Linked DNA regions of Homo sapiens: region 2 is linked to region 1. The links are contacts of gene promoters, found by promoter capture Hi-C in blood cells and fetal thymus (Javierre and others, 2016). All regions are on one chromosome and are shown on one strand. The core of a region is centred on a gene start or on the middle of the fragment in contact, and the rest is flanking DNA. Distances in the headings are between cores, read along the strand shown.

Evidence for each region. The method cuts DNA at HindIII sites, captures the fragments that hold promoters and counts their contacts. A CHiCAGO score of 5 or more calls a contact.
Region 2: a contact is called between the fragment with the promoter of MAST4-AS1 here and the fragment with the promoter of MCCC2 in region 1, in 3 of 17 cell types (naive CD4 T cells, non-activated CD4 T cells and total CD4 T cells). The highest score is 7.6, in naive CD4 T cells.

Annotation. Positions count from the first base shown.
Region 1 is chr5:71,585,842-71,590,515 of GRCh38, forward strand. It overlaps MCCC2 (methylcrotonyl-CoA carboxylase subunit 2), which reads left to right and starts at 1,499. Exons shown (of 17, transcript NM_022132.5): 1 at 1,499-1,713. The coding sequence starts at 1,585. RefSeq lists an enhancer at 1,158-1,944. The HindIII fragment of the contact is 6,273 bases long and covers 1-2,796 here.
Region 2 is chr5:67,002,113-67,006,644 of GRCh38, forward strand. MAST4-AS1 (MAST4 antisense RNA 1) reads right to left here and starts at 2,042. Exons shown (of 2, transcript NR_111908.1): 1 at 1,732-2,042. The region is part of intron 4 of MAST4 (microtubule associated serine/threonine kinase family member 4); the gene reads left to right. RefSeq lists a silencer at 1,920-2,259. The HindIII fragment of the contact is 7,419 bases long and covers 1-4,532 here.

The DNA.
Region 1 (4,674 bases), core at 249-2,748:
CCCATCCTCCCCCTTTACTCTGCCCCACTAAGCAACCAATGGAGTAGAAGTAGTAAGTGCTCAATAAATATGTGAATGAAAAACCTTAAGTTCAAGGCATTTTGTATAGAATGTTTTAATTTTTATGGGTATATTTGGAGTCCTTTATTTAAGACCACAGTGCTGATGTCCACAATCTGTCACTACATAGTGCCTGGTGTGGTGGCTCATGTCTGTAATCCCAGCACTTTGGGAGGCTGTGGCGGGCAGATCGCTTGAGTCCAGGAGTTCAAGACCAGCATAGCCAACATGGTGAAACCCCTACAAAAATAAAAAATTAGCCGGGCTTGGTGGCACAAACCTGTAGTCTCAGCTACTGGAAAGGCTGAGGTGGGAGGTCAAGGATTCAGCGAGCTGTGATCGTGCCACTGCATTGCAGCCTGGGCGACAGAGTGAGGCCCTGTCTCAAAAAATGAAATAAAGTAAAAAATAAAAATAACTACATAGCGAAAATAATCAGAAGAATGTTTAAGGTCTCCAGTGAAAGGACAACAGGCTTGTTGTGCTGTTCGCAAGCACGTGTTAGATGCGATTCACTCATGTTGTTGGTGTGTCACTGGGGGTTGTGACTGCAAGTTGTCCAGGTTCTTGGCATTGTGAACAAAGAATTGGACAAAACGCCCAGCAAAGCAAAGAAAGAACAAGGCAACGAAAGAACGAAAGCAGGGATTTACCGAAAACGAAAGTGCACTCCACAATGTGGGAGCGGACCGAGCAGAGCTCAAGGGCCCGGATATAGAATCTTCTTGGGTCCAAATACCCACTAGAAGTTTCCTATTGGCCATTTTATGCTCACCTCAAACCCGATTGGTTGCAAGAAGCAAGCAGTCAGAGGCTAGGGTGAAATTACAAAGTTATACTTCTATGCAAACGAAGACTGGACCCCCAATCAGTCTGATTGGTTGTGGACAGCAACCATTCAGAGGCTGGAGTTAAGGTTCAAACTTGGCAAAGCAAGCCTCCACCAGCAGTAAGTCTGATTTGTCGGGGACAGCCAATTTCCTATCTGCCCTGCGGAAAAGGTGGGGGGGTTTGCAAAGGGAGTAGCCTTTGGTCCTTTTGTTACTTAGGCATGGAAAGTTAGGGTTTTCCTTTCAGTTTAGCTCTAGGAAGTCAGCGTGAGACAGCCTTAGGTTCCCTGCTTCCAGACTTATTCTCCTGCCTTAGGTACAGTCACTATCGTGATATTATCTATCGCTGTGTCAACACAACACCAATCCAAGCCCAACCGCAGCTCTCTCACTGCCGCACCGCTTCGTGAGGGTCGATCCGCCGGGGAGACCTGCTCTCCTGCGCTCGGGACTAGACGCGACCTCGCGGGGCTGAGGCTCTGTCCCTTATTGGCTGGGTCAGGGGGCGTGGCGCGGCTTGACCAATCGCGGGCGGCGCGCTTAGGCACGTGTGTGGACAGGCCTGAGAATCAGAGAAACCTTCTCTGGGGCTGCAAGGACCTGAGCTCAGCTTCCGCCCCAGCCAGGGAAGCGGCAGGGGAAAGCACCGGCTCCAGGCCAGCGTGGGCCGCTCTCTCGCTCGGTGCCCGCCGCCATGTGGGCCGTCCTGAGGTTAGCCCTGCGGCCGTGTGCCCGCGCCTCTCCCGCCGGGCCGCGCGCCTATCACGGGGACTCGGTGGCCTCGCTGGGCACCCAGCCGGACTTGGGCTCTGCCCTCTACCAGGTAGGCTGAGCGCCCCGGTGGCCTGGCCGCCGGTGCCAGGCTAGGAAGCAAGTGGAGGAGGGGCACGCTTCAACAACTGCTGCTCTCTTGTCCGGAGCCCCAGTTGATTCTGTGACGCACGTGAAGTTTGAAGAAGAAAAGCCTAACAGATACAAGAAAGTTTAGTTCACTTTTAGAGCTGGCACTGTACTTTGTGTCTTTGAAATCAGTGGTTCTTAAAGCCTGGTTTAGAATTGCCACCTGGGGAGCTAGCTGAATAGCTGCCTGAGCCCTACTCTGGACCTTGTGGGTCTCAGGTGGAGTCGCTGTGTTTATATTGTTAGTGAACTCATTAGGGGACTTTTGGCAGCCAGCTTTGGGAACCACTGGCCTAGAGCAGCCCAACGAGGGGCGCTGTGCTTAGGAAATTTGAGTTTAAAAGTTGATTATGATGGCCGAGCCCAGTGGCTCACGCCTGTAATCCCAGCGCTTTGGGAGGCCCTGGCGGGTGGATTACCTGAGATCAGGAGTTCGAGAACAGCCTGGCCAACGTGGTGAAACCCCATCTCTACTAAGAATACAAAAATTAGCCGGGCATGGTGGCGCGCGCCTGTAATCCCAGCTACCTGGGAGGCTGAGGCAGGGGAATCGCTTGAACTTGGGAGGCGGAGGTTGCAGTGAGCTGAGATCGTGCCATTGCACTCCAGCCTTGGCAACAAGAGCGAACTCTGTCTCAAAAAAAAAAAAAAAAAAAAGTTGGTTATGTTAATAGAAAATATCCCACAGTATCTTTGAGTGGCTTTTCTTGGAATTAGGAGGCATCATAAGGCCAAAAAACTCAAAACTTGCGAAATATCAGAGCTGGAAAATTTCACTGTGTTCCCACGATTTCTAAGCCTATACAGATAACATCTAAATAGTGCAAACAACACACAATTGTTTGTCAGTCCAGAATGTTTAATTCAGAATTATTAAGTGGTTATTGTGGTCTAGGCACTATTTTAGATATTTGGCATGGATGCGTAGGAATGGAACTAATAATTTTGTAGGGAAGATGGACAAGAAAGCAGGTAACTGTGGTACAGTGTAAGAAGGGTTGTCTAAAGCTTGAGAAGGTGGTTACAGAAAGCTACCGATAGGAAGTAATGGGTGAGATGAATCTTGGGTAAGAGCTGGCCAAGTTCAGGGTGCAGGATGGAAGGTAAGACTGTATAAACCAAGAGAGTTACAAGAACATAGGTACTGAGTTATGAAAGTGTATATCTGGTGTGAGGACTTGAATTCCATGTCTAGGACATGGAATTCATTGAATAGTGTCTGGTGATGGGATTGATTGATTATGGGGCCAGATAGAGGAGGATCTTCCATGCAAAAGCCACATTTAGATTCCATTTGGCAGGTTGTCCATTAAAATATTTAAGTAGATAAGTGGCATGATCCTATGGATATGGTAGAATCATCAGTGTGGTGGCAATGTGGAGGATGGATTGATATAGGGAAAAGACTAGACCTAGGTGACAGTGGAGAGTTGAGTCTTGAGATGAAGGAGTCAAAGTTAGAGTTGTATGTAGGAGGGGGGCATAAATACCTGAGGAGCAAAGATTATAGAGTTAATAACTGAGTGGAAGGGGAAAATGGATGACTTTGGAGTTTCCAACTGGGCAGAATATTTAGTTAGGTGGAACTGCCATTAATACAAAGAAGGCTTTGGTGATGGGTTTTGTATGAATCACCTTTTGCTAGGTTGCGCTTTGTGTAACAAATAATCAAAAAATCTCAGTAACTCACAACAGTAAATATTAGTCTCTCACTTGATTTTGTTTTGTTTCTTAATCTCTCACTCGTGTTGGTGGCCTTTGGTTAGCTGCTGCTGTGACTGTTCCACTGCAGGGTAGGTTCAGGTCTGCTCCATGTGTCTTCCCATTCCTGGACTGAGGCTGAAGAGCAGCCCTGAATTAAACATGCCCTTCTCATGGCCGAAGGCACAGGAGCAAGAGGCTGAACACAAATTGGATTTAAAATCCTTGCTGGCATGTGATGAAATTAATGTGTGCTCACATTAGACAAAGCAAGTCCATGAGGGTGGGGGAGAATGGGATGAATGATCCAGTTTAGCTGTGTTTCCTGATTACAAATAAAAGCAACTATAATAAGTAATAATAATGGCAGGAATTTTATAGTGTACCCACCATTTTTCTAAAGGCTTTATGTGGTTTTACTCATGTATTTATCATAATGATCCTGTGCAGTAGGTACAATTGTTATTTCTGTTTTATAGATGGGAAAACTGTGGTATATAGGGTCCAAGAAATTTGTCTGAGATAACACAGAGCCTGAATTTGAAGCCAGGTGGTCTGGCTCATAACTCTTGAGTCCAGGGTCTTAACTGTTGCTCTATAATGCTTCTCACTCACCCAGCTCTACCTAGGTGGGTTCTATGGTTGAAAAGATGGGGTGGGAAACTTGTCAGTGGCTCAGCTCCAATTCATTATGACTGTCAGGCACTAACCTCTGTGGTTGCTCAGCTTCACAAGAAAATTACTAGGTTGTAGAATGTTGTTTCGCAGGTGATTAAAACACACACACACACACACACAAACACAAACACCTGGCGTCCTGAGAGATCAAGATTTGCCAAATGCAGTATCAGTAAGTAGGGAAACTGAAAGTTGAACTTGGTTTTGCCACTAAACTACACTGCCTCTTGGTTAGTGAGTCTCATCCTAAGGAGGCTAGGTTGGTTGATAAAGGATTGCCTGGGAGGTGAACTGTAGCCAGTACTGGCTCTTCTGTGATTTAAGTCTGATGGGCTGAGCTTGGCACAGATGTTGCCCAGTCTGTAGAGGCAAATGTCAGCTTCAGTGGGTCAGTGCTTTTCTTCTTTGACCCACTGGTTGCTTAAAAGTACGTTGTTTAATTTCCATATATTTGTGAATTTTCCAGTCATCCTTCTGCCATTGATTTCTAGTTTCATTCCATTGT
Region 2 (4,532 bases), core at 792-3,291, 4.6 Mb before region 1:
AGGGAATTCCCCTTGAGTTTGATTGTGACATTTCTTAGAGCCATGTAAAGACCTGAGGAATGTTAGCACTGATATCTTTCCAGCTACATGATATAGATACAAATAAGTCACTAAGAGAAAGTCTTCAGAATTTACCGTCTTCATGGGATTCTCAAAAATTCAGTATTCTTTGAGAATACAGATCTACTAGTACTAATAGTTTCAGTGCATCTTAAGAGAAATAAGAGATACTTGGGCTTCTGAAGTATCCATTCAAAAAGGATTTACTAATATTAAATGCCTATATAAACTGAGGAGCTGTCAGGTTCTGAAAATATGAAGATCAGTAAAATGTGACTTTAGCCTTGAGGAACTCAGACTAATTGGAAAGACAGCAGTAAACAGTCAATTATACACAGTGTGATCAGCAGCCTGGTTGAAGACTCTAGAGAGTAGAAAGAAGCACATTGTGGGGTGTCCTCTGCTCCAGTCTTATGTCTGTCAGCATAGTATTCTCTTAGCTTCTGTATACTGCCTACATTTATGCGCAGTGTGTGTGTAGACATTGCGTGAAAGGGCTTATGTATGCCATCTCCTCTTCATTTATGTATATCAGCCTCTTACAGGTTGGTCCTATTATGGACCCCATATTGCAGCTGGGGAAAATGAGAAGAGATTTAAGGTCATAGTAAGTGTTGTATCCAGAATTCAGACCCAAAATTTTTGCTCTAAACCAGTGCTCTGTATCACCCCTCTCAGAGAAGCCTTTATCTGGAGCAGTGGTTCCCAACCAGGGGTGATTTTACCTCCCAAGGGACATTTGGCAATGTCCTCAGACATTTTTAATTGTCAGCACTGGCATCTAGTAGGTCGAGGTCAGCAATGTTGCTAAACATCCTCCAATGCTCAAGAAAGCTCCTCAGACAAAGAATTATCCAGCCTATGTCAACAGTGCTGAGGTCTAGAAACTGCTCCGGAGCACAGGGACACTCTTTTGTGTCAGCCTTCAAAACATCTTTTGCAATACTTAGAAACATTTTTTAAAAGAAGAGCATGGGGCAAAAATGCTGGACCAAGCTCATTAATATCTATTGAAGTGTGTTTTGTCATTTAGTGTCCCTGAATGTTTGGGATAAAGTCCCAAATGTAAAATTGAGAAAATAATGCCTTCTTTGTCTACCTCTGTGGGTTGCAAGGATCTGTGGAGGCTCTGTAAGAATGTGAGGAGATAACGCATACGAAAGCCTTGGACATGAAACATCATCCAAAACTCTTGGAGTCCTTGGTGTGAAAATATTAATGTGGGCCACAAGAATTAGATAAAGAAGATCCCACAGCAGGCTTCTTTTTGTTTACCCCGCCTACCTTGTCAGCTTACACCCCCTCTTCCTTCTCTTTATCCTCCCATTTTTGTAAGCGAGTTTGTTCCTGGTATTTACTGCATGGACTAAGCCATTTTTAGATGTATTTTTTGCTGAATATATACTTTTTTGATTTAGTATTTCTTGCCATATTACACCAGACTTAAGGCAGCTAATTTAAATTATATTTTTTCTTTATGTACTTTATACAAACATTCATGGATAGGGGGAGATATTTAAATACCATGCCTTTCTTCAAAATGAATAACAAGAACATTCAGCCCCCTTCATTCTGCCCTTTCAAGGTCTAACGTACTTGAAGGGGCAATACTTGTAGCATTTGCCACATAAATGCCAGGTAGTGTCTTTCCACATCGGGGCTCACCATTACCTAGATCTGTAGTTGCCGGCCATGAAGCCAAACAGGTGTGCACCGTGGTCATTGATGGAACAGATGTAAACTCATAAATTTAGTTTACTGAGGTTTTCGGTGAGTGTGGCTTCCCGTCCGCGTGCTTTTCCTATACAACCAGCGGCGTCCTGGCGGAGGAGTCACTGTGGACTTCCCCGGAGCGTTGTCACTGCCATCCCTCCCGCGGTGAATCACAGGTCGGCCTCAGGTGCGCGCAGCACACACCCGGAGCAGCCGCGGGTTTATTTATTTATTTCCGGGACGGATCCATTCCGGGCTCCGGGGAGGGGGAGCGGCGGCCCAGGCTGCGGGGCTGTCCCGGCACCGGCTGGGGTCGCGCCGCGGCCGCCTGCTCCCTTTCCCGTGAGCCCCCGCTCCTCAGGCGCGGCCGGGGCTGGTGGGGGGTGGGGGATGCAGGAAAGCTGGGGGCGCGGCCACCAAGCTGTCCAGGGACAAGGCCCTGCCGCCTCCTCCCAGCCGGACCCTGGAAGGGTCCACAAAGGTGTCAGGTTCAAGTCCTCCAATAGGCCCATTTTTTAAAAGTGCTTTTAAGTTTCCGCTTTTTTCAGGAGGGGAGGGCAAGAGCAGCTTTTTCTATTCAAATTCTTTTCCTTGTATGTAGATACCAAAAGGAAACTCGGCACTGGGCATGTTCGGATGTGAATGGTTTTGCTGATAAGCAACAGCCTCCGGAACCAAAGCCTCAAAATAGTCGTCTCCCCCGCCCCTCGCAGAAGCGGCGAGTGGTATCTGCCAAACAGATGACAAAGTACCTCCGACTGAATCCCACAGACAGCGCTTTGAGCAGAACGCACGGCTCAACTCATGTAATTACTGTTTATAGCTGGCCGAGCCTGACTAGGAGAGGGCAGACCCGAGAGGAAATCAGTTTCCCGGACCTTTGAGAGGAGGCTGTGTGTTAATTAAAGGCTAGGACGGGACGGGTACTTCTCAGACATGCTCCAAGTTGTTCTTGAGATCACAGTTCCCATCACATTTTCTCTGGAGGGAGTGAGTAGATAATTGGGATTTTTTTTTTATTTTTGGCCTTGTCTTTCTTCCTTTTTTTTACCTCTCCCCATTTTAGTCATATGGCCTTGAACCCACAGTGAATTGAAGAGAGAAAGAAATGGATATGTCTGACCCCAATTTTTGGACTGTGCTCTCAAACTTTACTTTGCCTCATTTGAGGAGTGGGAACAGGCTTCGGCGAACACAAAGGTAAAAACGCGGGGATCTCTGCCTGGAGAGGGAATGCTTTCACTTCCCAGGGGCCCACAGGCGGAGCTGCCTGAGCCCCTCAGGAGCTGGGGTTTTGTGTATTGGGTGACACTTTGAAAAGTTTATGCCCCGCTAGGGGAGGGGGTACTGTTTCAGGTATTTCTTCGTCCTTGTGGTTTCCTGGGTAACCCTGATAAATGTGCTTCTCATAGGTTTTCTCCTTTTGAAATGTGGATAATAAGACATTTCCTTGTGAGAGGTGGGGGAGAAAAAGGGAAAGAGGAGGAGATACTTTGTCTAAGTCTGTCCCTTTGACCTGATCATGTTTATCCATTTCATTCACCCAGTCATTGAGGCTTCTGGTACTTTTCGTTGAGCCCTTCAGATGTTCCTCTCTATTAAATATTTGACCTTTATAAGATGCAGATGTACGATGCAAGGATAGCCCAGGTTAGCTATTTCATACTATCTGTGGAGAGGCAGATCTACATAACTTTGTCATTTTGATTTTTCAATGGTTTGCTGGCATTTATTACTAATACAGGAGTGTCCTTTTCATTTTGTAACGTATATTTGATAGAAAAGATGGGGAAAGAAAAAGAATTTTAATGTCAAGATGAAGCTCATGCCACAAGTGACAGGCAGTTCCAAGAGTTTGCTGACACTTGTGTTGAGAGACTATGACTTTGAAGGAGGCATTTCTCACCACATTTGTGTCCAGCACAGAAAAGTAAGATTGTTGTACTTTTAGAGGGGCACACCTTTTGAGTTGTGTTAATACTGATTCTTTGTTTTCCTTCAAAACTTGCCTTGCATGTACATGTGAACATGCATGAGAGCAACTTTGCAGTCAGATAAACAGGATGCAGGCTCTCAGATTTGGAGCTTCACAATCTCTATGCTTCAGTGTTCAAAGAACCCAAGAAAATGGTTCGTTCTTTTTGGTTATACCTGTAACTTTTTGTAGTATAAATGTGGATATGTGATACTTTAGAAAACTTAGTTTTTCCTTTTGAAGTTTTTCATGGTTTCTTACATTTCAGAAACATCCTGGAATACTCACATACACTGTTTATATACATGGGTGCACACACAAATCACATGTGCACCTGTGTGTATGAGAGAGACATCTGGCAGGTTTCAAAGTCATATTTGCTTTTTGATGCAGTTTGAAGTGTTGATACCACTAAACTATGTTGGATTCTGAAGTTGTACCTTTTAAGTAATGTGACTATGTTTTTCTCGTTCTGCCATATATGGTCAGAGACCCTCTCTTGTAGTATTGCTCATTTTGTAGTATTGCTCATCAAGTTGTGTCAACCATGCACCAAACCTCCAAGACAACTAATAAAGTTGAAGAGAGATACATGCTACACATGAACTAGGCCACTGCTCAACATGGTGATAATTCGTATGATTTCTTACCATTTCAGCTGGACAGAATCCCTTAAATATTTCTGAGTTGTGTAGTCCTGGCTGCGGTACAGCCTCTACTCTTACCTGGAACCAGTTCTTAGGGAGAGAAGTCTGTTCTGGCATCGTATGTGTGTGTCTGAACC